Regions from separate parts of the Homo sapiens genome. Here regions 2, 3, 4, 5 and 6 are each linked to region 1. Evidence: promoter capture Hi-C in 16 types of primary human blood cells and fetal thymus (Javierre and others, 2016). All regions are on one chromosome and are shown on one strand. The core of a region is centred on a gene start or on the middle of the fragment in contact, and the rest is flanking DNA. Distances in the headings are between cores, read along the strand shown. Region 1 holds the start of CHN1 (chimerin 1). Region 2 overlaps LOC124906097 (a long non-coding RNA gene). Region 3 overlaps WIPF1 (WAS/WASL interacting protein family member 1). Region 4 has its middle 30 kb from the start of WIPF1. Region 5 has its middle 68 kb from the start of WIPF1. Region 6 has its middle 76 kb from the start of CHRNA1.

What was found. Contacts are between HindIII fragments. The CHiCAGO score rates a contact against its expected background, and 5 or more counts as called.
Region 2: a contact is called between a fragment that was not itself captured here and the fragment with the promoter of CHN1 in region 1, in 1 of 17 cell types (total CD8 T cells). The highest score is 5.0, in total CD8 T cells.
Region 3: a fragment that was not itself captured here is called in contact with the fragment with the promoter of CHN1 in region 1 in 1 of 17 cell types (naive CD4 T cells); the score reaches 5.3 in naive CD4 T cells.
Region 4: a contact is called between a fragment that was not itself captured here and the fragment with the promoter of CHN1 in region 1, in 4 of 17 cell types (naive CD4 T cells, total CD8 T cells, total CD4 T cells and 1 more). The highest score is 7.1, in naive CD4 T cells.
Region 5: a fragment that was not itself captured here is called in contact with the fragment with the promoter of CHN1 in region 1 in 1 of 17 cell types (naive CD8 T cells); the score reaches 5.2 in naive CD8 T cells.
Region 6: a fragment that was not itself captured here is called in contact with the fragment with the promoter of CHN1 in region 1 in 2 of 17 cell types (naive CD8 T cells and M0 macrophages); the score reaches 5.3 in naive CD8 T cells.

The regions. Positions count from the first base shown.
Region 1 is chr2:175,003,537-175,008,006 of GRCh38, reverse strand. CHN1 (chimerin 1) reads left to right here and starts at 2,626. Exons shown (of 13, transcript NM_001822.7): 1 at 2,626-3,113. The coding sequence starts at 3,095. RefSeq lists a silencer at 2,866-2,925 and an enhancer at 2,910-3,456. The HindIII fragment of the contact is 4,598 bases long and covers 1,154-4,470 here.
Region 2 is chr2:174,540,418-174,544,887 of GRCh38, reverse strand. It overlaps LOC124906097 (a long non-coding RNA gene), which reads left to right. Exons shown (of 3, transcript XR_007087309.1): 1 at 1-105. All of the region lies in intron 1 of LOC124906096 (a long non-coding RNA gene), which reads right to left. Among named protein-coding and RNA genes, the nearest start is that of WIPF1-AS1, 33 kb to the left of the region's middle. The HindIII fragment of the contact is 167 bases long and covers 1,803-1,969 here.
Region 3 is chr2:174,578,644-174,583,113 of GRCh38, reverse strand. It overlaps WIPF1 (WAS/WASL interacting protein family member 1), which reads left to right. Exons shown (of 8, transcript NM_001375834.1): 3 at 1,675-1,804. All of the region lies in intron 1 of WIPF1-AS1 (WIPF1 and CHRNA1 antisense RNA 1), which reads right to left. Among named protein-coding and RNA genes, the nearest start is that of WIPF1-AS1, 5.7 kb to the right of the region's middle. The HindIII fragment of the contact is 2,156 bases long and covers 1,588-3,743 here.
Region 4 is chr2:174,625,772-174,630,241 of GRCh38, reverse strand. It overlaps a transcript of WIPF1 not described here. Among named protein-coding and RNA genes, the nearest start is that of WIPF1, 30 kb to the right of the region's middle. The HindIII fragment of the contact is 4,377 bases long and covers 1-4,113 here.
Region 5 is chr2:174,663,231-174,667,700 of GRCh38, reverse strand. It overlaps a transcript of WIPF1 not described here. Among named protein-coding and RNA genes, the nearest start is that of WIPF1, 68 kb to the right of the region's middle. The HindIII fragment of the contact is 2,373 bases long and covers 615-2,987 here.
Region 6 is chr2:174,686,115-174,690,584 of GRCh38, reverse strand. No RefSeq gene overlaps it. Among named protein-coding and RNA genes, the nearest start is that of CHRNA1, 76 kb to the left of the region's middle. The HindIII fragment of the contact is 2,995 bases long and covers 1,126-4,120 here.

The DNA.
Region 1 (4,470 bases), core at 1,377-3,876:
TCAAGTATAGAGAGCATTTTGTTAGAGCATCAAACCATTTGGAAGTCAGTTGAAAGGAATGGCTCGTGGAAAGCAGGATGCTTTAAAGGGAAACATAGCAACATTCACACTGTTTTGTTCCAAATTGTACCTTAAAAACAGCTGTGTGTGTGTGTGTGTACGTGGGTGTGCGAGTAGAAAGGGGAGAGGAAAAGGATCTTCACTTGAGTTTAAGCAGGGTATTTCACTAGGATTCAGTTGTATTTGGCCAAACTAGTGAGTGGAAAGCTGGTCTAGTAACCAAAGGCCGGCTGTATGATGGGAGGGTAAATCTGAGTGCAGGGCAGCTCCTTTCTCTCTGTCTCACTCCCAGGACAACCCCTCAAGGGATGGAGAGAGCTACTAGCAAGCTGAGCTGCAGCACCAAAACCTTGATGCTCTAACAGAGCTTAACAAAGAGGAGAGAAAGGCATTGTTTCTCTTTTAGCATGATGGGACACATAGTTCTGAGTAGAAGGGCATGTTAATAAAAACTCTTTGAGACAAAATGCAACTTCCCAAACTCTATGCAGAATGGCTAAGGACAAAATACTCTCGTTATTTTGCTTCTAATACTAAACAGATTTTTCTTTTGAAATTCAAACCATGCAACCTCTAAATTGATGCGGGATGTGGGTAGGGAAGGTGGTCGGTGAGAACACCAGAAATCTAAGATTTTCCCATTGGTTCTGCTACTAAATAGGTGAACACATTTGGGAAAATCTTTTTACGGGGAACTCAATTTTTTTACCTATAAATCATGGGAGTTTTGGTCTTTTCCTATTCAAAATTCAATGGTTCTATTCTGAAGGAAAATATTTTCCTTTAAATTATAAAGGCAAAAACTTTCTGAGATTACAAAAAACACTTCCAGGGGCTCACCTAAGGTCCCTGAATAGCCCATAATCCCCTTGAAATTATGTGAAAAATTTCCGGTGAATGTGTGTATGTATGCAAGCACTTTTCTAAGAGGAGGGACAGTATTTTCATTAGAGCCTCAAAAGGAAATTTGGTCCAAAAATGTTGAAGACCACTAGTTGAAACAGTAAATGGAGTCTTCGGTTTCTGATTTATTTGGCTGCAGAGCAGATTAGCAGCAATCTTTATATGGTTATAAAATCTATCCCACAAAGCTTTCTTGAGTTTCTCATTTATTTTCATGAGCTGTGTGTTTGTAATTTTTTATGAGCAGAAAGGTTGTTCAAAATCAAGAGTCCATTTTCATGAAAGATTTTAAATTCTGGGGATTTTAAAGATGTATTTTGATTAGTGGCTAAAGAGAGCCATTTTACATCACAAAATTCCAAACATATAGCATCTTAAACACTTGCCCATTCATGTTGAATCATTTTAATATTTCTTTCTTCCTGAGTTAACTGACTTGAAACAAAAGGCTTGGCTCCTCCTTCCAACCTGCTTTTCTTCTGATGCTTAAGTCTGCTTTGAAATAATGATGGTGAATTAACTGTGGTTCCATTGGAAGTACTGTAGTAATCTCCCACTTTATCAGGATTCGATCTCTAAGATACATTAAATACAAGATATTTCTATAATATTCTTAAAGAATTATTTGAAAATGGGAGAGAAGACACTAGGGAACCTGAGGAACTAAGAGGAAAGACGCCTGTAGAAAGAAAGGAGAACCAAAGAGAAGATCTACATGATCAGATACCAAAATAGTATCAAATCCCTAAGCAGAGAAACAAGAAAAAAGAAGGAATTTCTTAAACAGGGAACACATATAGCAACTAGAGAAGAATGACTTTTTGAATACATTAAACGACAACGACGAAAAACATATAACCCAGCTTTTCAAGAACATCTTTTGGCTGACAATCTCAAGGCGTTGTATGGCTCCTCATGGCAGAGACAGAGGTGAGGAGACAACATCACAGAAAGGAGGACGTTGCCAGTGATTATCAGATAAATACAAGAAGCTCAGGGGAACAATCTTTTGTGGCAAATAAGTGCCAGTCAGTGACACATGCTGATTTTTTTTTCCTTGAGACAATATCAAAGAGGTATAATGTAAAGGGAAGAAAATCAGGTGTAAGCATTGGTCTTTTAACAAATTATCTTAGGTAATCTCAGATGCTTTTTAAGCGACTCCTTTTCCTAATGTGTGTCAATTTCATCAGAACTACTAGCAGCTCCTAAGTCCAAACGGAGAGGAATGCAGCTTTCAGTGCCTCTGTTCCTACCAGAGCCCTGCAGCTTCAGGTCACCGGCTCCAGCCACAGTGAGCCTGGAGGGCGCCAGGAGAAGAAATATGTTCTCACACGCACCAGGTCCCCAGATGACCCTGCCTGGGCGCTGCGTTCACTCAGCATCCTCCTGTGACTCTTCCTCTTTCGAGTAACAGCGTTTTTCTCCTCTCTGCGCCTCCTCAAATTCCATTCAAGAAAAAACCTGGGCTTTCAGCTAAAACGCACACCGGCCCCGCTCCATCCCGCTCCGGGCGGCCGCCTCCAGGGGGGCGCTGGTGGCTCCTCGCAGCCGCGGGAATGAGGGCGCACCCTCTTACCCCCGCGCGCGCCCGTTGCCATGGGAACGCACTCGACCGGGAAGCCCGAGGGAGAGGCGGGAGGCAGCGGCGCGGCCGAGCTCGTGGGAGACGCTATCGCAAGATGGCGTCTGCGAGGCCGCGGGATGCGGAGTGAGCGCGCCCCGCCGGGGGCTGTGCGAGGCTGCTGCTGCTCTCCCCGTCGCCGCCGCCGCCGCCGCCAGTGCGGCGCCGCCTCTCCGCCAGCCACTGCGCCGCGGCCAAGCCTCCTGCCTCGCAGGTACCTCCTCCCGCGCGCACGCTCCGCGCCTGATGGCAGCGACAAGTGCCGGCTCGCGGAGAGCTAGCGGGGCTCCCTGGGCCCGGTGCGCCCGACAATAACGCGTGAATAACTTTTTCTTGCAGCGGTCCCCCGCGTCCCGGCCTGCAGCCTCCCCGGGCGCCGGCGCCCCCAGCACGCCCCATCGGGCACCCCACTCTCTCCGAGGTGTGGGTGCGGCGGGCTGATGAGGTGATCCCTAGCCCGCCTGGGAGGAGCGCCTGGACTCGCGGGCGGCGGCGAGCGCCTTTACAATGGCCCTGACCCTGTTTGGTAAGTGCAGCCGTCTCCCCGCGCCGCCGCAGGTGGGCCGCGTCCCGGGGCTCGGGGGCGGGGGCCTGGGGGGCCTGGGCGCCCGGGGAGGGGGCGCGGCGCGTGGGGTCGGGGCGGGCCGGGGCCGCAGAGTTGGGGCGCCCGGGGCGCCGGCTTGCTCCCTCGCGCCTCTCCCATTGTTTCCTCTCCCGGCAGGGCCGATGGGCGTGTGCTCCCCTGGCCAATTCTCGGCTGGGAGGCTCAGAGGTCCTGGGTGTTTTGCAAACGCACAAAGATTCTCTAAGATGCCAACTTGGGAGTGAAGTTAACTGGTTGTTTTCAAACCTGCCTTTCCCGTCGGTAAATAAATCCTTGGAAAGTTTATTTATTTTGAACGAGGTATCTGTGAGTCCCCAGCCTCCTTGGAATTGCCAAATGCATGTGTTGCTTCCTGTTGGACTATTGGGGAATTTTTTTTTTGGACTCAGTATATTCCGTTGGAAATAAGTATGATTTGTGAACTGAATATGGGTTAAAATTGAAAATGTTTGCACTAACGAATGAGAGCAGACAGAATAAAGTTGGTTACCAGAAGATAACTGTAATCTCAGGAGACTGAGTATTCATTAAGAATGAAATGTTATTTTTGTGGTGTAATTACTGCAGCACTGTTGCTTTTGGTGGTTAAGACTTCAAGCTGTTTTTTTCTCAGTCTGCAATGACAATGGGTTGGGAAAAAGGACTGAAAAGATACATTCTTTCCTTTTACAAAACGACTATGGTACATACGTACCTGACTTTAAGAAAACTCAATATGTGAACATTAGACGTTCAAAGTATTCAGCTTTTTTGAAGAAGCAAAGTACAATGATATGTAATTGATAGCTACGAGAACAGCCTAAGTAAGTTATTCACAATATCAAGTTTCCAGTTCAGTTTTAATTATGTCATTTGATCAAACACGTTAGAGGTGTTACATACCTCAAATGCTTTTTGAGGTAAATACTTCCCAGTGAATTAAGCTGCTAGAATCAAAGTGTTACTTTTATTTAACTATCTTATTTTATAAATTAAACTTAGACCCAGAGAGGTTGTTTCCCAAAGTCACATGGCTCTTTTGTGGCAAAACTGAGCCTAGAATTCACTTCACCAGGCTTCAGTCTGGGACTGTGTTTACTGTGCCCAAGTGCATTACTAGAAGTGCCATTTCTTACTTGGTGATGATCCTCCATAGGTACTTTAAAAAAGTGTCTTCTTTTTCTGAAAAATAATAAAATTCTCGCTGTTTCTCAGTACCTTGTATCTAAGCATTATTTAATAGCAGCATTTTCCTTAAATGTGGACCTTTTTGGTACAAACATTTTCTTTCCTAAAGAGA
Region 2 (4,470 bases), core at 637-3,136, 460 kb after region 1:
AGACAAGTAATGTTCACCTGCTTGAATGCATCACTTCATGCATCTTTAAAGGCTTTGAACTTTATTGTGATAATGGACGTTTAAATCACTTGGAATACTGATTAGGTAGGTAGCTTTTCAAAGGGAGCTAGGCTCCTGCCATACTTTGTCTAATTTTAATTGACGAAATGGAATTTCAGGCATGATCCCTGAAGAGAGGGCATTTCTACTGTAGACACATGGGGGAATTTTGCTTCTGGCAGAAAGAGAAGGGCCACAATCTAAAGTGATATCCAAAACAATGAAGTGAGTGGGGAAAACATCCAAGTGGGTAGAGAAGTTGGGAGGCGTTGTTCTATGGTGACAGTGATCATACTTTCCTAATCAGACACCAGGGCAAATGGGCTGACCCATGGTCTGATCATAGGACAGATTATTTGAAATCTGGGGTGTTTGATCACCATCTTCATAGTGAATGAAGCCAGCAAGCGCCAGCAGCTGTTCAGAGTGAAAGCCCTTAACAATGAGTCTCTGTGAGTTGAGGGACCCAGCGTAGTGGGTGGGAAATCTGCTGAGGTCACTTATGAGCCATAGCTTCCTCACACAACACAAAGAAGGGTTGTTACCAGGGGCTTCCTGGAACCGGTTGCTGTCACCACCTTGTCTGCAAGGAGAAAGGTGCAATCTACTCACCAGTAAAACAATGATGTTTTGCTTCCATACAACACAATGTGGGAATGCAAAATATAAGAAGCAGGAGCAAGAACAGGGCAGATCATCAGCTATCCTCTGCTTTCTCAAGCTCTATGGCTCCCTCTTAAATAGATTTTGAACATCATACTTTTTTTCTTTTTCTTTCTTTTTTTTTTTTTTTTGAGACAGGGTCTCGCTCTGTTGTCCAAGCTAGAGTGCAGTGGCACCATCACAGCACACTGCAGCCTTGACCTCCCAGACTCAGGCAATCCTCCCACTTCAGCCTCCCAAGTCCCTAGGACTACAGGTGCACGCCACCACACTCGGTGAATTTTTGTATTTGTTGTAGAGATAGGGTCTTGCTATGTTGCCCAGGCTGGTCTTGACCTCCTAGACTCAAGCCATCCTCCAGCCTCGGCCTCCCAAAGTGCTAGGATTACAGGTGTAAGCCACTGCACCCAGCCCATACTTTTTTTCTTAAATCTTCATCTCTCTGCTTGCTAATCTTGTACATTCAATTTGAAACAGGGGAGCTGTTTTGTTGCAAAGGAGGAGATTCAGAAACTCCAATTCTCCTCCTTACTTTAATAAGAATGTTATGTCTAGCATATCGTAATAGGAGAAAAGTCTTCCTTTATTGCCAACACTCAAAGTCAATTCTCAGTTATGTGCTTTGAGAATAATCCTTGGAAAATATTCTAATTCCACCTCCTCTCACCAACATAGAAGTTTCTAAGCCTCCATCTCCACTTTTAAGTTGCTGTGTGCTTTTTCAACTTATATCCTACCAAAAGCTGAGTTTATTTAATATATGACATCATAATACGTTACTTTTGATGATTCAATGCTTTGTGCAATCTCAATCATAGTTTTAGCTCTATTAGGGTCATCAAGGAAGAGTTCAGTTTTATGGAAAACTCAAGGTCAGTTTCCATTGGCTTCTTCTCTCCATCAAAGCTTTAAATATATAGTAAACAGAAACATAGAATAGATTTATTTGTATTTAATCACTGTGTCTGCTTGGTTGTTTGCAGCTGCAAGTAATCAACTAAAGTAGATTAAATTCATAATCCCCTAGAATAAGAAGTGTGGAGGTAGGGCATTTGCAGGTTGGCTCTGCTTGCTAAGCTTGTACATTCAGTCTGAAACTCGGGAACTGTTTTGTTGCAAGAGAGAAAATTCACAAATTCCAATTCTCCTATTTAATAATTCAGTGACTCAGTGTCTTACTGAGGACCTAGACTCTTTCCACATTTCAACCCATCATCCTGGGCACATCGGTTTTAATCCTAAAGCTTGCCTCTATGGTCAGAAGAGGGCCACTGCAGCTCTAATAACTTCCTAATACATCACCTGAAGGCCAAAGGACAAGAGTGTCCTCATTATGATGAGGAGAAAGAGCTCCCCAGAAAACACCCAGGCTTCAAATAGTGAGTGGCTGATCAGCCCCTATAGTGGGAGGAGGCCCTACCAGCACTTAAAACAGGACACAGCCAAAAATAGCTGCTGTAAGTGGGAACTTAGAAAACTCTATGTACATACACTGAAGGTTAATGAGCATTCTGTTTATTTCCCATGGAGACTGTATCTGTGAAATGAATTTAGAACCAAGTAACCATTTTCTTTTTCTTTACTTTTTTTTTTTTTTTGAGATGGAGTTTCACTCTTGTTGCCTAGGCTGGAGTGCAGTGGCGCAATCTCAGCTCACTGCAACCTCCACCTCCCAGGTTCAAGTGATTCTCCTGCTTTAGCCTCCAGAGTAGCTGGGATTACAGGCATGCGCCACCACACCTGGCTACTTTTTGTATTTTTAGTTGAGACAGGGTTTCACCATACTGACCAGGCTGGTCTCAAACTCCTGACCTCTGGTGATCCACCCGCCTTGGCCTCCCAAAGTGCTGGGATTACAGGCATGAGCCACCACACCCGGCCTCAAGTAAATCATTTTCTAATCAGTTGAAACAGTACAAAGGAGAGAGTTGGTGTGAGGAGGGGGTCTGAAGGGGTGTGTAACTTGATGGTTGGGTTGAGGGGTGATCAAAAATGAAGAAAGAAAATATTCTAGACAGTGATAATTAATTGCTGCTAACATCACAAAAAAAGAGATAAGCAAAATGCCTTCCTACAGAAGTATACAATGCCACCTATAAAGTGTTCTTGCCAAAAACACAAATCAAATCCGATTAAACCTCTAGATCTAACACCCAACCTACAGGAAGTACAGGGAAGAAAGCAACTTATTAAACACAACCATGGGGTTGTAGTCAGCAAAATCCAGAACAAATGACCTGGCTTAGTGAATAACAGAAAAGGAGGCTGGGTGCGGTGGCTCATGCCTATAATCCCAGCACTTTGGGAGGCTGAGGTGGGCAGATCACGAGGTCAGGAGTTCGAGACCAGCCTGACCAACATGGTGAAACCCTGTCTCTACTAAAAATACAAACATCAGCCAGGCATGGTGGCACGCGCCTGTAATCACAGCTACTCAGGAGAGTGAGGCAGGTTAATCGCTTGAACCCGGGAGGCGGAGGTTGCAGTGAGCTGAGACTGTGCCACTGCATTCCAGCCTGGGCGACAGAGCAAGACTCTGTCTCAAAAAAAAAGGAGAGGGAGCATCTTAGATTAAAATGTACTTAAGAGAAGGAGCATTTATAGATTAAAATGATTAATGTTTGGACCCTGTTTGGATCCTGATTCAAACACAGTAATTGTAAAATGACACCTATAAAATGATTGAGGAAATTTAAACCTGACTGGATATTTGATGATATTAAGGACTTATTGTCAATATTTTTAGAAAGGATAAAGGTATTGTGGTTATGTCTTCTAAAAGAGTTAGTATTTTTTAGAGGCACATGCTGACATATTTATAGCAGAAATATGACATCTGAGATTTACCTCAAATGTCTCCAAAAAGTCCAGTAGAAGTAAGGAAGTGAGGGTAGGAAATGCCTGGCTGTGAATAATAGTTGGGAAGCTGGGTGATGTGTACCTGGGCGTTCCTTATACAATTCTGTTTTTATTTTGAAATAACAATTTTTATACATTTGGTTTTTTTGTTTTTGTTTTGTTTTAGAGAAAGGGTCTCACTCTGTCACCCAGGTCAGAGTGCAGTGACGCAATCATGGATCACTGCAGCCGCGAATTCCTGGGCTTGTGTGATCCTCCTGCCTCAGCCTTCTGAGTAGCTGGGACTACAGGAACATGCCACAATACTTGGCTAATTTCTAAAGTTTTTGTAGAGACAGGGTCTCACTGTGTTACCAAGGCTGGTCTCGAACTCCTGGACTCAAACAATCCTCCTGCCTTGGCCTCCCAAAGTATATTTCATTTTTTTACACAAGAGATGAGAAAAGAATAAAAATAAGAAAAGAGGGAAAGTCAGGTAAACAATCCTGTGTGACTCAGTCACCAGTTTGGGCCAATGGACTTCAGTTTGGGATTTCATGGCCCAGGGCAGAAACTGACAGTGATGTGCACCTCAGGCTCCTGGGAACAGTCCATCTGCTTCCTCCAGGTCACCCAGTCAAGGATGTCTCAAGGGAGTACTTACAGCAGCAGGCTGGAAGTGAGAACTTCTGATATCACCATCATTATTATAAGAAAATGCAGAAAAGTCTTCCTGACTATCCTATGCTAAGTACCCCCAAGTAAACTTAACCCCATTGAAATAAGTGTTATAGGTTATAGAATGTTAATTCTATCCAATGAGGTCCTAAGCATAACTTTTTTTTTTTTTTTTTTTTTTTTTTGGTGAGACGGAGATTTACTCTTGTTGCCCAGGCTGGAGTGCAATGG
Region 3 (4,470 bases), core at 1,416-3,915, 420 kb after region 1:
GGAGGGGCATTTTAGAGCCCACATTTATCCTTCTATCAGCTTGTAGGGAAGGCTCTTGACTGCCAGGGTTTGAATCCCAGCTCCTCCTCAACTAACTAGGTGCCTGGGGCAAATGATTTAAACTCCCTATACCTCAGTTTCCTTGTCTGTAAAATGGAAATAATAACTCACAGGGTTGATAAGGGCTAAATGAAGTAATACACATAAGGTGCTGAAAACAGTGCCTGGCACAGAGTATATGTTAACTATTATTATCATAAGCAAGTAATACTTCATCATTTAGTTATTTCAAGATGCTTCCAACTTTACCACTGCAATTCTGGTTAGCCTACTTCAGGGTTTTTCTGAGTTCTTCCTTTGCCTCTAACTCTGCTAATAAAAGGCTGAGTTAGGCCAGGAGCAGTAGCTCGTGCCTGTAATCCCAACTACTCAGGAGGCTGAGGCAGGAGGATCACTTGAGCCCAAGAGTTCGAGGCTGTATTGCATGATGATCACACCTGTGAATAGCCACAGCACTCCAGCCTAGGCAACATAATGAGACTCTGTCTCTAAAAAAAAATTGTTTTTTAAAGGCTGGGTAAGGTATTGAGCCATACATTTCCCCAGCTTTTCCTCCTGTGGCCCTAACTGGCAAATCTGAAATCATATCCCTGTCAGAAGGGCTGGGGCCAGCCTAGAAAGGACCTGTGGGTTTGGGGCAGCCAGACTCTCCCTGAGACAGACAAGACCTAGCCAGTTTCCAAGTGTGATAGACACAGGCACACAGGCAGGTGCCTACATCTAAGTCCATTTGCTGGTCTCTTAGTGTCCCCAACTCCCTGAAGGAACAAGATCCCAATTTCATAGTAGGTAGGGATCTTTCCTAGGAATTCTGGAAATATAAGAAAATAATCAGACATGTTAAAGCAGCATTTTTGTCCATTCCACAATTTCCATGAGCTAAGCTTTCATCAGAATTAAACATCAGAAACACCTCATGCCAACAGGACATGAGGGAACTTTTGAAGTAATGAAAATATTCTATATCTTGATTGTGACGGTGGTTTCACAACTGTATATGTTTGTCAAAACTCATAGAGCTGTAACTAAAAAGGGTGATTTCACTATGTGTAAATTACACCTTAATAAATCTGACTTAAAAAGAGAAAAAAAGCATCTTTGGCAATATACACAGAGGGAATTATTTTCTAGAACTTTAGTGGGTTTAAAAAACATACAGCTGACTCTTTTTGCTAGAGACAGTTTTTCCCTTGCACTGGGGTAGTTCTAAAAGATGGGAAAAGGAAGTTATTCTTCAGGGTACCCTCTAGTGAATGACGTCTGGTAATGTCCTGCAGAATCCTCCCAGACTTAAAATTCTTTTCTCGTGTCTAGTCATCTCACCCTAACCTGGCCCTGTTAGTTTCAGTCAGATTGTGGTCTGAATTTTCAGAGACTTTAATCAAGGACTGACTCTTCCTCCCTTAAAAATGAACATAATTTATTGCTGCATCTGCTTCCAAACGTCTGGATCTTAAAAAGAAAGATATGGGGTCTAAAACTTGTCGAGAATTTACAACCTATCACCAAGAACCTTAACAACAAGCTTCCCGTACCCAACCTTTCCCAGCCGAGTGTTACAATGCATGATTTTAACCCAAGAGATGACTACTTGTTTGTATGGCTCCCTTTCAGGCCAATACAGAGAAGCCTACCTTGAATAAGACAGAGCAGGCTGGGAGAAATGCTCTCCTTTCTGATATCAGCAAAGGGAAGAAACTAAAGAAGACGGTCACCAATGACAGAAGTGCACCAATACTGGACAGTAAGTAAAAAAAGGCTATCTACCATGGAGAGGAACAGTTTATGGCCTAATAATCAACCCTACCCTCACCACTCAATTTTTATTTTATTTTATTTTTTGGTTAACAACAGCTGCAAAGCTAGCAAAATAAGGGACTGTATCACTCCCTGTAGGCCGCAGCTTTGGCTTGGGTTCCCCTCTAATGCTGCAAGAAGCCAGTATAATAATTCTTTGTCCAAGACATACACAGCAGCAATTCTCTGCATTATTCACAACACTTTCTGGAGATTAACCCATTGCTCCTGGCACCACAGATGAGGAGGCAGCATAAAATATGGAAAGAGCCCTAGCCTTGGAATCAAAAGCTGTGGGTTCAAGACCTGGCACATCCATCCTGTACCATCTCCAAGCCTTGTTTTCTTCATTTTAAAATGGAGATGATAATACATGTTCTATTGACCTCACAAGTTTGTCATGAGCTTCAAATGAGATAATGCCTGTAAAATGTTTTGTTGTCTGGAAAGTGTAATTCAAGTGTAAGATACAATTATTAGGAGCTTAGAGAGAAAGAAAATGAGGTCACAACTTCAGTTATCAACCCACCTAAGTCTGAGGTACTTTCTGGAACAAAGCTACTTATTAACATTTACAACAGGACAAAAAATAATCCATGACTAGAATTCTACTGGCAATTAATAAGTAGATCTTAAGCCTGTCTCCTCACATTCCTAGACCCTTCCTTTGCCTGCCAGATGTCCCCAAGATTCATCCTAGACTACAGATCCCATTTGGACGGAACAGGAAATAGACTGACCTTCCAAAATCACCAGATGGATCTTTGTCAACAAGTGAATAATGAGGCAGAATCTTTGCAAAGTAAAGGATTAGAAGTGCTTCAGGGAACTTTCTGGGAGAAATACCTAATGAGTAGAGAAGGAAGAAGAAGGATCAGAGTTAGGTGGACTACTGGTTTGGGAGGAAAAAGGAAAAGTGAAAGACCTAGATAAGGCCTTTGAATGTTGTTCTGTTACCGGGCAAAGTGCTGCGAGTGAGAATGCACTGCTTTCAAAAAGGAACTATGGCCGGGCGCAGTGGCTCGCACCTGTAATTCCAGCACTTTTAGAGGCTGAGGCGGGTGGATCACTTGAGGCCAGGAGTTCAAGACCAGCCTTGACAACATTGTAAAACCCCATCTCTACTAAAAATACAAAAATTAGCCAGGTGTGGTGGCACATGCCTGTAGTCCCAGCTACTCGGGAGGCTGAGGCACAAGAATCACTTGAACCAAGGAGGTGGAAGTTACGGTGAGCTGAGATTGTGCCACTGCACTCCAGCCTGGGCAACAGAGCAAGACTCTGTCTCAAAAAAAAAAAAGGAACTAAGGTATTTAACTCTTGACACAGTCTGACTTGTAAGTCAAAATGCCCACAAAACGAATGTGGTTATAATATATTCCCTCTAATCCCTCAGCCCTCCAAGCCCTCCAATAGCCATCTGAATCATGGTCCCTGGTATGAGGCCAGAGGAGCTGACCTCTAGGACAGAGGCCTGTGGTTCTCCTCACTGCAAGAGGGAGCCTAGGGCTCTGTTGAAGGAGGCTGGACAGTCTAGACCTATTCCTGAATCCACTAGTGGAAACCTTGAAGAATTGTATTCTTCAATGTCCACTTCTCTTATTTAATGGAAATAGTGTTAGTCCTTCTCTCTTCCATGATGTTTAATAATGTGCTTTCCTTGATGGAAGGAAGATACAGTCCAGTGCAGGCCCTTGTCCACACACTCAACTGGACACCTATACTGCTGTCACAAGCTCTTTGCAAGCAGCAGTGTTTATCCACAGTTTTGTATCTGTTTGCATGTGAAACTTCCCTGGGCTGTATGTCAAAATGTTGACCATGGTTATGTGTGATAACTCAGCCCTGTCCTACAGTTTAATTACTGAAAAAATAATCTGAAAGCTTAATCCTCAGCTTTAGCTTCTCTTTCTGAAAGATGGACAGATGTTGCAGGTTAAGAACACTAATGGGCCAGGCACAGTGGCTCACACCTGTAATCCCAGCACTTTGGGAGGCTGAGGCAAGTCGATCACCTGAGGCTGGGATCACCTGAGGCATGGAGAAACCCCATCTCTATTAAAAATACAAAATTAGCCGGGTGTGGTGGCGCATGCCTGTAATCCCAGCTATTTGGAAGGCTGAGGCAGGAGAATCGCTTGAACCCAGGAGGCAGAGGTTGCAGTGAGCCAAGATCGTGCCATTGTACTCCAGCCTGGGCAACAAGCGTGAAACTCCATCTCAAAAAAACAAAAAAAAGAACAGTAATGGGTGATGTCTGATAGTGCAGGAGTCCCTCTAAAGTTTCAGTACCATGTAAACGTGTCCTGTGAAGTGCAGTATTCCAAAATGTGTCATTCATCAATGAATAGTGTTTGAATGACAAGGGCGATGTTAATAGCAAAATTTTTAAATTTTATATGGAAACAATTTTGCATACACTTCTAGAAATTGTTAGTCTTATATGATTTATCCTGTTAGGTGAAGTAATTCTTGTCAGTTATTATCAGATTATTTCTTCCACAGCAGAGCTACCATAAGCATCTCAGAAAGCTCCACATCTAGAAAAGATACAGAACTAACACAAATTTATGATAAACCTAATCCAGAAAATGGAAATAAAAATGAATAAAA
Region 4 (4,470 bases), core at 676-3,175, 380 kb after region 1:
GCGTTCATGCCCAGATTTTAATATGACATATTTTAAGTTAACTCATTGTATTGTTTTGTAACCTAGAGTGGCTTAAAAACAGAGTCATTTGTTATAGTAGGATATGTGTTCGCACACACAAATATACGTGTGTGTATGTGTGTGTGTATAATGGGAGGAATTCTCTAGAGCATATGTTTCCTAAATTAGAAGTCACTAAGTGATATCTTGGAGCCTACAATTATTTGGAATACTGCTATCTTCAGACTAGGAAGTTATGCATGTATTATACATAGAGATTCATTTGGGGGGTTTGCTAGTAAACTGTAATTCTTTCAGTAAGTCACTGCTTTACTGAATGGTGAAGATTTGGAATGTCTTCTTTGATTTCCAGGCCAACAATGGATAGATTTGGTCGTCCTTGAAGCATTTAGAGACCTGTAGAATGAACTTAACTTCTGAAAACTGGGTGCGGGGCCAATAGAGGGGCTGCTCAATACCTCACCAGCCTGCTACGCGGAAGGCTAGATGGAGGGCTGCTAAAGGAAGAGAACTGCTGTTCCACCTCCGCCTCCTCCCTGCAGTGTGGCTTCTTAGGCAAGTCCCAGTTTAGAAGTCATCTAACTAAGTGAACATTCTTGAACTGCCACCAGACCTCTCCTAAAACTTTTTTCTAAGCAAACAATATATGCTTTCAGACTTTCTCTTCTTCCCTCTTCTTTTCCCCTTCTCTCCACTCCCTACTTTCGCCTCTGCCATTTCATGCCCATCACCTTGTGAAAGCTCAGGGCAGAATTTACCTACATGGACAGCATGCTTCCTTCCCTGGCCCTGTCTCTGAGCTTTTTATTCCTCTTCCCCAGAGCATTTAATAGCCTTCCCTGCAAAACAGAGGAAAGTCAAGGCTGATGAGCATAGTTATCAGAATAAAACTGTTTAAGAGGTTTTATGTAAGAAAAATAATTTGGAAAATAACAATGTTTTTTATAAGATCCTGATGAATCAGGAAGGATAAATAGTTTACTTTTTTTTGATAGAGAGAGACTCACTATGTTGCCGAACTCCATCTGGAGTGCAGTTGCTATTCACAGGTACAGTCATGGCACACTGCAGTCTCGAACCCCTAGGCTCAAGCAATTCTCCTGCCTCAGCCTCTCTATGTTTTAAAGACTTCCTTTAAGGGTCCATAAGGAGGTAGCTGTAAGGGAAGGGGAACTAAAAAGGCCAGAGGATAATTTTCTCTAAAAGGCAAAAATGTTAGGTTATTCAAAAACTATTTTTTTCCTCTACTTCAGTGCCAGGAACATCTGGCCTCAGGAAAAGTTTAGGAAAGATGCTGTTGTCATCATTTAAATCTTAAAGAGGTAGGAAAAAAATAATCTTGGATTTTTTACAACTAGAAGGGACCTTAGAGAGTTATATCCTTTTATTTTTAGATTTGGAAACTAAGGCCCAGAGAGATTAGGTGATTTGTCTATGGTCAAAGTAGCTCATTAATGATGGTAGAGGGTGCAGAACAAGGCCCCTGGCTACACACTGGTGACATAAGGGGGAAATGTTGAAGGGCCCCAAGGACTTGGGAATCTGAAAGTAGGTGCACCTCTGGGATCTACAGAGGCCAGATCTGTGCCTAATGGGAGTAGAGTAACAGATTGAAGATTTGAGGAACTTCCAGAACTCCAGCAAAGTGAGCTCTACGTAATTCCTGGAAGACAGCACAGCCATATGGTTGGAATTTTGTGGGTAGAAAGCTAATCCATCCTACCTGGAGAAAGGTTGTGGGCAATGAACTGGTCCTCATGGAGCAGAGAGGAAAAATTTCCAATGGTTGCCCAGTATTGGCCTGGAAAATAGGTCCTGAATCTTGTGGACATGAGTGTGGATTGGTAAGTATGGATGAAGATCTTTTGTGAAGTGTCTGTTGTGATGCATTATCAGGGCTCACCACGGCATGGATTAAGCAGTCCTCAGAAGGGTTAGCCATCCTTAGCACTGATTCCAACACCCCTGAACCACATTCTGAATGCTAAGTCAACTTCCTGGGTACCATTAGCTCAGAAAGGTATATTCTGGACAATGGACATGGTCACTGGAAAGAAATGGCATTTTTTTGTAGATTCCGGGGTGCCCAGCAGCCTCTTGTGAATTTTTACTCAGACATTCTGAGTCTGATCCCTCTGGCTCCCAGATAAAAGGGAGATGTGGGGACCTCTATGATAACGCTCTGTGCTTGATGTAGTGTTCTACCCCTCCCCAAGAATGCCACTCTTAGGGGTCTTTTCAGGGTAAACAGCAGCCTCTCCTAAGTGTCAGGCTTACTTTGTTGTTGCTCCTCTTCAAAATGCCACAAACATTATTAAAATTAAAAAATGAGATGTAATACATGGGTCCTGCTATTAGAAATCACAAGGCCTGGCCAGGTGTGATGTCTCATGCATGTAATCCCAGGACTCTAGGAGGCCGAGATGGCCTTGAGGATTGCTTGAGCCAGGAGTTCGAGACCAGCCTGGGCAACGTAGGAAGACCCCATCTCTACAAAAAATTAAAAATTAGCCAGGTTTGGTGGCATTCACCTGTGGTTCCAGCTAATCAGGAGGCTGAGGCAGGGGGATCACTTGAGCCCAGCAGGTCAAGGTCAAGGCTGCAGTGAGCCATGATCACACCACTGCACTCCAGCCTGGGTAACAGAGGAAGACTGTCTCAAAAAAAAAAAAGAAAGAGAAAGAAAGAGAGAAGGAGGGAGGGAAGGAAGGAAGGAAGGGAGGAAGGAAGGGAGGGAAAAAGAGAGAAAGAAAGAGAAAGGAAGAAAGAAAGGAAAGAAAGAGAAAGGAAAGAAAGAAGGAAAGAAGAAAAGAAAAAGAAAAGAAAATCATAAGACCTTTTTTTGGACACTGGATGTTTTCAAAGTTTTTTCTCTTTGTTTTTCTTGTTTGGCATTTTCCCTTAATTCAGATTTATTTATTAAGTATCTTCCATGTGGATCTTATATTCAAGTTAAAAGATGTGGACAAAAAACAATAAATCTAAAAAATACTAGGTGATGTATATTAGGAATTTAGAAGGGATACATGCTGTGGAGAAAGAAGTCTAGCGGGGCTAGGAGGAGCAGAGCACAGTGGTGGAGGATGGGTGTAGGTGAGCTGGTAAGGGCAGCTGTCATGGAGAAAATGGTGAGATAATTCACCATGTAGCCACATGGGGAAAGCCTGAGGACGCAGAAGCGGAACATGCCTGGAGTATTCAAGGAGTAACATGGAGCCAGTAATTTGGAGGTGAGATCCTGGAGGGCCATGTTGGTCATGGTAGGACTCTGGCTTTCCCCCCAGAGTCTGGGAGTGAGGGGAGGATTTTGATCCAAAAAGAGACAATGATCTGACTTTAAATTTAACAGCTCCCTTTGGCCACTGTATTGAGAATAGACTGTGGGAGCACAAGAGTGGAAGAGAAGGACCAGTTAGGAGGCTATTGAAATACTCCAGTGAGACATGCTGGTGCCATGGACAAGGGTTAGCAGTAAAGATGTTGAGGAGTAATTAGAGTCTGGTTATTTTGAAGGTAGAACCAGCAAGATTGGCAGTTGGATTGAAAAATAATAAGCAAAAGAGAGGAGTTAAGGAAAATAGGAAGTGGCCTAAGTGTAGTAAGAATAGAAATGCCATCAGACTGAGATGGGGCGGGCTGTGAGTACAGCAATTTGGGGTGGAGGGGAGATACTAAGACTTTTGTTTGGGATATAGTGAGTTTGAAATGTCTATGAGACAGACAGCCAAGTGGAGATGTCAAGTGGGCAGTTGGATATGTGTGTCTGAATATAGGAGTTAGAATCCTAGAAAAAAGTCATCTTTCTTAATGGTCTTGGTTTAATATCACTCCTAAATTCATCTGTAGCTTCTAAAACTTCCATTAAAAACATGGAATGTGACTCTGCATAGTGATGTGTTCACTGGTTTGATTTCTGGGACTGAAATCAGAGAGAGAATGTTCTTTTGGGTAAACAGAAGTGAAGAATCAGGATTCTTGTTTCGAACTTTGCTTCTTATTGCTTAAAACTTAATGATTCCATAATTCTTATTTTAAGAAAAAGAAGTTTTTTTAAACAAAATGAGCAAAAGCAATACCTTAACAAATCAAGCTTTCCTCTGCTTTTATGTCAAGGTAGTTGAGAGTATTGTGAGACGGTTATAATTTTTATGTTTATGTAAATGTCATCTTAAATATAATTGAAATTGCTTTTTGTCATTGAAACAGATATTATGTAGTTTTACAAATTTTAATGAATTAAACTATGCCGTCTTCCTGTAGAAAAGGAGATACCGCTGGCCCTCCATATTCACAAGCTCTGCATCTGTGGGTTCAGCCAACTATGGATCGAAATATGCAACTTCAAATTATCTTCATTCAGGAAGGAGAACCCTGAGTTCTTCTGGGTTGGATCTAAGCATGTAAGACTATTGAGTTACATTTGACTTCTGAAGTCACTTTTTGTCTTTA
Region 5 (4,470 bases), core at 552-3,051, 340 kb after region 1:
CTTTAAGCCCCTCCCGGAAAGGCTGAGGTGGCCTGCAGAGGCTTCCCCTCCTGGTGCTCTGCATCACCAGCAACCTAGGCAGGATTTGCCGCTCCTGGGATCAGAGCTGAAAGTTGACCACAGGTTACCTTTGTACCTGCAAAACAATGACCAGGGATCCTCACAGGCAAGACTGGAGAGGAGATCAGCTCTTTATCAGATAGAGACAGAAACCTAGGGCTGGAAGAGGTCCAGAACTGTGTTCCCACCTCTGAGCTAGACACTTCAAAACAGCCCAGGGACGGGGGTGGAGGTGGAAAGGGTTGTAAAGTGTCATTGGCCTAGGACTGATTTCAGCCCTGATCTTGCATGATCCCACCCACAGGAAGAGCATTTTGGGAGAATTGAAACTATAAGGCCAAAGAAACTTGAGGGGAATTCTTTACAATTCCTGCAGAGACCTCGACCAGTCCCAGGAAGAGGGTGCCGTACTTGGTAGACTGTTCGAGGGTGGGAAATGCTTTATTCCTTCCCTCCCTTCGGGCCTCGCTCACTGTCAGCCCCAGTGGTGAGCTCTGTGCTGGCAGTTTATCTGGTCTTCTTTTCAAGTCCAGAGAAGGACAAAATAAAAAGCTTAGAGGAGCAGAAGCTAAAACAAAACCAACTGCATTCTTAAACCCGATCTGATACAGCAAGGTTTTCAGGGAGTGCAGCTGCTCCAAGCCCATGGGGCCCTTCCAGCCTCAAATCCATGGGACATTGTTCTTAGTCAGAGGGCAAAGGGATCTCTTTGTGTTTTTCTGATGTGAGCCTGGACCCTTCTAGAATTAAACAAGAAACTAGAGGCAGAGCTAGGATTCAAATTGAGAAGTTTCTGATTCCCATGTCTGTGGTCTCCCTGCCTTGTCCTTGATTAAAATGGCAGTTTTAGAGGCACATCCCACCACCGAGCATTCTGTGTCAGCATCAGCCAGCTTCCTGCAAAGCCAGGCCCCTGGGCATGTGCAGGCTATTGCCTTAAACCTGGATGATGCAGAAAGTGGCTTCCAGCTCTCCTTCTTAGTGGTCAAGGAATGTGGAGGGGCCTGTGGCAGGTAGGCCAGGCACTGAGCTGGGTGCAGAATGGGCTTTACCTTCTAAACTTACTGTCCCAGCTCCAATGTAAACTAATGAACTCTCATGAAACCAGTAATGGCTTGCTTGCTTGAGGAACTAGAGGGCAGGGTGTGCCATAACTGACCCTGGTTGCATAAGACAGTCCAGTGAGTTCCTCCTTTTTTACCCCCTGAGGTACATCAAAAGGACCCAAGACAGAAAAACTGTAGGAATAAACTCAGTCCTAATTTGGAGGCCATAGGCAAGGAACCTTACATTGTATAGATTCCTGGGGCTGGCAAAATAGACAGTGGTGGATACCTTCAACTCTTGCCAGAGTTAAATTTTTGTTTGTTTGTTTTGAGATGAGATCTCACTGTGTCACCCAGGCTGGAGTGCAGTGGCACAATCATGGCTCACTTGCAGCCAAGGAATCCTCCTGCCTCAGCTTCCCAAGTAGCTGGTACTACAGGCACATGCCACCATGCCTGGCTAAGTTTTTCAGTTTTGTAGAGATGAGGTCTCACTGTGTTGCCCAGGCTGGTCTCATACTCCTGGGCTCAAGTGATCCTCTTGCCTCAGCCTCCCAAAGTGCTAGGATTACAGGCATGAGCCACTGCACCTGGCCCAAAATATTTTTAAGAGAGAAAATTTAAGAGGCTACAAGTGGTATGGGTTAGAGTTTAAACAACAGCAAAAGAAGCATGCTCAGAGTAGAGCCCCATTCCTCCACTTGAATGACAGACATGAAGTGGGACGGTGTCTGCATGCAGTATCTACAAATGAGCCTCTCTGAGCAGAGTCCATTGTAGAAAGACACATTGTCTAAACCAGGGTTCTGAAACCTTTTTTGGTTATGACCTACAGTAAGAAATACATTTTTCATTGAGACCCAGTGTATACAGGATAGATAAACAGAAACAAAAACAAAAGTTTTATAAAACAATTTCCATGTTTACCAAATGCAACACATTTCCTTTTCTATTAAGAAGAAAAAGCCGGTTGCAACCCACTAAAGTGATTTGATGGCCAAAGAATAGGTAGCAATTTGCATTTTGAAAAATACTTATTTAAATAGAAATTTGTCAGACATGTAGAAACCAGTCACATTGTAGCTCTGGCAGATTTCTGCAGGAGATCCAGTGACACATTTCATGGTCCTAGAAATGGTTTTCCTTACTCTTTGAATCTTTCACGGTTGATGAGGTGGTGTTGGTGATGAAGGCCAAGGAAGAGAGTGGAGAAGATGGTGATGGAGGAGTTAGGAGGCCAAGTCTTAATTCTGCTCAGGCAGAAAACAGTTGAGTGTCTGTGATGCATTGTCCAGACACGAATGAGACACAGACCCTGGTCTATGGCGGCTTATAGTCGAGGTGTTTGCTTCGTAGTAAAACAGGAGCAAAAAACCAGAATGATGCAGGTAACCTGAGGCCCCTTCATTCTGAGTTCTCTGAAAGGAGAAACCATATTATAGGGATGTATGCAGCGTTATACCCTCGGTCTGCCTCTCCTCTGTCTCCTCTGTAATAAGTATTCAATAAATCTGTATTGAAAGACAGTGTTACCTGAGAATACTTGTACTTGCAACTAGACTGGTAATCAATTTCTATAGTGGTATTGTTAATATAATATTATTAATGTTAATAAAACATTAACATAATATGGGATATGATGGTTTAGATAAGAAAGATCCAGGCCTGGCGCGGTGGCTCATACCTGTAATTCCAGCACTTTTGGAGGCCGAGGCGAAAGGATCACTTGAGCCCAGGAGTTTGAGACCAGCCTGGGCAACATAGCAAGACCTTGTCTCTATTTAAAAATTAAAAATGAGAAAAAGGAAGACCCAGAAGAGTTCAGGTTATGTAGCAGAACTGCAGACCCCATCTGGGTTTCAGGTCCTCCTAGAGCAAGCTTTTAAAGGTTGAGGTTTGTCTGGTTTGACTTGTAAGTGGGCCCTGGGACAGCTTGCCCTGGCTCTTGGCCTAGAGACAAGAAGTCAAAGTGGTGTGGGCCGAGCCCGACACTGGCCACCACGGAACACAAGAGAGGGCATTCTTGGTTTTCCCCTACTGCTCATTTGAAACTGCACTGAGTTTTCCCACTTGGGTCAGCAGTTCAAGATGGTGTGATTCAGGCTTAAATCACCCCAAGTTTCTGTGTGGTAGGTTTCTGTAGAGATGAGGGTGCTTGCAGACCACTCTCTGTTGGATCCTAAATGGAGTCTTTGTTTCAAGTCCTGGACTAACCCAGCACTAAGGGGGCATTGAGGCTGAGGAGTGGTCTTGGGGCCCTGGAGACCCTGGCACAGGTCCCAGTGCAGAGAGTGAACGAGCTCCTCCGCACTCCCTGCGCTGGCTTTCTCAAAAGCAAGCTCTGTTCTGGTTGTCCTGCCCCAAGGCCTGGCGCTTCAGACCCAGACCAGTCATACTGCTACACTAAATTAGATTGAAGCCCTTCATTCAAGCACTTGGGGTGTGTGTGTGTGTGTGAGAGAGAGGGACAGAGGGACAGAGAGGAGAGAAGGGTGTGCTGGCTGGTGAGGGAGGCAGGGATTTGCAGGGAGGAGAGGGAAAGACAGTACCTGACTTAGGGATAGAGCCAGAGAGCCCCAGGTTCTACTGCCAGCTCTGTCGCTGTATGTGTGACCTTGGGCCTCAGTTTCCTTATCCATAAATTGGGAAGGTTAGTGCTGCTTCCTCTGATCTCCTTTGGCTCCAACGCTCTATGGCTCTCAGGCCTGAGCAATGTTTTCTGGCAGGAAAGAGAGGCTGCCCAGAGCTTCCTTCTCAGGCAGCCAGTGCGCACATTCTTTCCTGTGCCCGCATATGGAAGCAATTTCTAGATTATCCAAGGCACTAGTGCTGCTGAGCTCACCCGAAACAGAAGAGCTTGGTGGTGGTAAATGGAAAAAGATAAAAAACCTGCATGCGTGTTCCTCTGTTTTCCTCCCACAGTGACTTTCATATCTGGAATCCCTCGTGCAATTTGCTTTCCCATGCTATGGCAGGGGCGTGCCAGTGGGTTTGGGGAACTTCACAGAAAAATCCTGATAAACACAAAGTGAACTGCTTCTCTCCTGAGGCCAAAGGCCACTTTGCCTTTTTCCCCAGGAAACTTCAGGCCTGAGGAAACTTGCAGGGGGCGGCGGGGTGGGGGGAAGGGGAATGCGTGGAGGGGACCATAATGTTCCCACATTTATTGTAATCTTTCTCTCTGGTCTGTTAAAATGAAGACTATTAATGGCTGGCTGAAACATCAGCCAAGAGCTTTGAAGGGGAAAATGTTTTATTGGTTCCTTCTCTGCCAAGTGAAACCTTTACCTGTGTTTCTCCTCTGCACCCCTTGGAGGTTTGGGTCGCAGTTATCTGGTAACTTGTAAACTGGAGGCACAGGGCA
Region 6 (4,470 bases), core at 1,374-3,873, 320 kb after region 1:
TAGCACAGTAAAGTAAATGCAACCTTTCCTGACCTCTCCCATGTCTTCCCCTCCAGCAGGGTTAAAGCATGAAAGCAACTGTTCAAAAACACTCCAATTTGCACAGGGAGTCCCTGTGAATGTAGCCATCAGGAGGGAAAGGCCCGCCTTGAGCCAACTGGGTTCACCCATTTCTTGGCTATTGTATTGTCTCCACTTCTCCTCGGGCCCTCCAGCTGCACTGCGTTCTCTCCTGAAGTAAGGCTCCTGGATCCTTGTTATGGGTGGAGAACAACCTCTGGAAAACCTTGTGCCTTTGGCAGCCCCTCAGGTCTTCAGCGGACACCTTCATTCATACCTGACCAGTGAGCAATGACAGGCATCAGAAGACAGGAGCAAAGCAGACACCTTTCATGTCATTAAGTCCATTCTCCAGATAAAATAAAACCTGCAGCCCACATGGGCTTCCTGACACATCTACCCTGGATCTGCCAGTTATGAGTTTAAACCCCTGTACCTTTCTCACTGGTCCAAAGGTAAGGAGGACCCAGAATCAATGATTGGATCAAACAGCTCTGGAGGTATGCTTCCTGTCACCACCCCTCCCTGCCCACAATCCTGGAAACTCAGGATTAACTGCCTTTCAGTCCCTCTTTTATATGAAGGAACCATGGTATCCTGTTCCCAGGAAAGTCCCATTAGGGAGGAGCTGTGCCTGCCCAAGCCAGATGTTTTCCATTCACCCCTCCAGGCCACTGTCACCATTCTCCACCTGTTCCAGGCCAGGGAGGCTGATCTGCATGGACAGCGTTGTGGGTTTCCTGTCCTCTGGCTCCTGAGTGAGCTCACATGATGGGCGAGCTGGCAGGAGAGGAATAAAGTCAGGGTATTTACCCCTTTTTCCCTCATTCCACTGGGTCACCATGGCTTGTCATCATTCTTGCCTTATCTAGGGCTGCAATTCCTAGAGCTGAAGCCACCCTCCCCAAGTTCTGGTTCACATCCCCTCCTCTTCAGGCCCAGGGTGGTAATGGCCCCCTGCCGTTCTAGCTCTGCAGCGTGGCACCATCCCTTGTTCCTTTCCCTACACTCCTTTGTAAACAATTTCTTTACTAAGCCTTCCTATAGCACCTCATTTGAGAAGCTTTCTGTTTCCTGATGGAGACTGCCTGCCAAACAATCCAAACAGTAGCTTTAGTTAGCCACTTTTTGGTTCCTAATGTGATGCTAACAGGAACATGGGTGAGAGTACTGGACAATGATGATGATAGTCATGGTAGCAACAAAAACAATGAACTTTTCTTGAGTGTTTATTAAAGTCAGACACTATTTGTATTAGTTGACATGCATTAACTTACTTTCGGCCCACGACCCCTTAGTGAAGAGCAAGGAAGGAAGCCTCTAAGATGACCTCAATCACCAGGGCGAGCTGATATTCATATTTATGTGCCACACTCTTACCTTAAGTGTGGGTTGTATTTAGAGACTTGCTTCTAATGAGTAGAATACAGCACAGTGATGTGATGTCACTTTCAAGTTAGGTTACAAAAAGACTGTGGCTTCCATCTCACGTGTCCCCTCTTGCTCAGTCACTCTGAGGGAAAACAGTTGCCATGTTGTGAGCTGCCCCAGGGAGACATCCACATGGCAAGGAACTGCTCTCTCCAGCCAACAGCCAGTGAAGACCTGAATGTTGAAACAGCCATGCAAGTGAACTGGAAAGTAGCTCATCCTCCAGTCAAGCCTTGAGACTTGGCTGGCACCTTGACTGCAGCCTTGTGAGAGATCCTGAACCAAAAACACCCAGCTTAGTTACCAGATTCCTAACCCACAGACACTAGGAGACAATAAGTGTGTAAGTCACAAGTTTTAGAGTAGTTTGTTACACAGCAACACAAAATGAATACAAAGGGGGGTGCCATTATTATTGTCCTCATTACAGATACAGAAACTAAGGCTTAGATACCTGCCCTAGGTCACACTGGAAATCAAAAAGGCAAGATTGGTAGCCAGACAACCTCACTGAGCACTGATGCTCTTAACCATTGCGCATGAAACAGTCTATGAGGGAATTTCTTTATAAGAATTAGCTACTTCCGTTTTTGTATATTGTCATTGGAAGTACAGGCTGCTACCAACATTTTGGAGAGCAATTTAGTAGTATCTATCAAAAAGTGCAAACACTTCCATCTTGCAATTCTGACTACCTAATGGAAGTTACTTCTGTGAGTCAGGATACTAAGAAGAATGTAGATGCATGAGCATTTAAGAGCACGAGTGTTTATTATGAATTTTTAAAAGACATATAACTGGAAGTAACATAAATGTCCACTAAGAGGCGCTTTGGTTGAATTATGACACATTATACAGTAAAAGACTATGCAGTTCTTAAAAAAGAATGAGGTTGATTTATATTTAGAGAAATGGAAAGACAACCCTTGTTACCTGTGGTAGGCAGAATTCTAAGATTTTCATCCCCTGGTGTATGCACACTTTCTCTCACTTGTTCAGTCAAACACTGATCTAGATGCTGCCGTGAAGGGATTTTGTAGATGTGATTGGAGCTGCATTTAAGATAGGGAGATTATCTTCAATGGGCCTAGCATAATCAGCTGAGACCTTAAAAGGAACTAGGCTCTTCCAGGCAAAAGAGACTAGAAGTATGAGAGGGATTCCACATGAGGGAGATTCTCTGTTGCTGGCTATGAAGACGAAAGCCATGTTGCAAGGAATGCAGGTGGCTTCTAGGAGCTGAGAGCAGTCCCACAGGTGACAGCCAACAAGGTAACAGGGTCCTCAGTCCCACTACCATAAGGAATTGAATTCACAGGGGCCAGTGACCTGAATGAGCTTGGAAGTGGATTATTTTCTCCAGCACCTCCACATAAGAACTCAGCCCACCTGTGATACCTGTGAACTGAATCACACCATGTCCTGACTTCTACAGAGCCATGAAATAATAAATGGATGTTGTCTTGAGCTGCTAAATTTATGGTAATTTGTTACACAGCAACAGGAAATGAATGCAATAGATTATTTAGCGGAAAAAGAAAAATAAATTAGAAGAAGATGATGTACAATATAATCACATTCACCTGGCTTTCATTAAATATTTGTTGATGAAGAAAAATAAAAATACATAGAAAAAAAGACACAGGGAAGAATATATACCCTACCATTAGTGGTTATCTCTGGTGAATGGGATTGCAGGAGACTCACTTTCTATATTTTATGCTTATGGAATATTTGAATTGTTTAGAATGAGAACTATTTTTAGTAAGGGAAGAAAATGATAAAGTGAAAATATTTACTAAATTTGCTATCTCAGACTAAAGTTTAAATTTTATCTTGTTCAACTCTTACTGTCTTAAGTCTTTTTTTGGAATACGGTGTAGTGTAAATAAGTAAAATATCTAGCTCTCAAGAGCTCAGTCCTTTCAGTTTTGGATATATCTATTAAATATATGCTGAGCATTTTTTAGGTGCAAAGCAGCTTCCTTCCTTCCTTCCTTCCCAACACATCCTGATTCTTCACAGTATCCCTGGCCTAGCATGGTGCTGTCGTCCCACATAGCATTCCATTTCCTCCCTGCATTGATGCAGAAGAGAAAACCCAGGCTGTTAAACAGCCTTTAGCCAGATCTACCTGAACCTCAACAATTCCTTCCAACAATAGAAACAATATTTTTTTATTTTGCTATTTGGCACCAAGGAATCTGGATGCCAGTCAATTCAGGTCATTCACACCAGCAGAAGCTCAAAAGAGGGAACAATAATAGGAAGTAAAGCCAAGAGACAGTATTAAATAGTGGTTAAAACAAGGGTGTTAGCATCAAAATAATCTGGATTTAGAAGGTCACAAGCTGAGTGGTCTTGGGCAGGTTACCTAAGCTCTCTGAGTCACAGTTTTCTCATTTGTAAAATGAAGACAAATATCTAAATCACAAAGTTACTGTAAGAATTCAATGAGGTACTCTGTAAAAGCATCTCACTTATTCATCAAGTGGTAATGAATAGTGAGAATGTGCTGGAGCTGAGAAGACTGCGGTGAGCCAGGCAGGCAGGTCCCTTTGCCTACTCTCTCCCTCTAGACTGGGGCTACTATCTACTGGGGAACAAGTAATTACAATAAAAAAAAGCTTGTTATAAGAGGGGAAGTTCTAAGGCACCACTAAGCTAATTTAGAGGTCAAAGTAAGTCCCAAAATGGTAGTTATGAAATGGTAAGCAAATATATGTATTTAATGATATTGTGCCCTGCTTAGTTTGTCCTAGTTTGGCATCTCAACATCCTTCTATCTACCTCGCTTCTCCCTTTTCCCCAAGATCACTGTAACATTTCTAGCCTAGCTTAGTCTTCAAGCAGCATTCATTAAGTCATTTTTTCTTATTAACTCATTCATATCAAAGTATACATGACTACAAAGGTTTAGCATAATACTTTTGCATGCTACTAACTTCAATGTCTTCATTTTAAGCTGAAATTTGACAT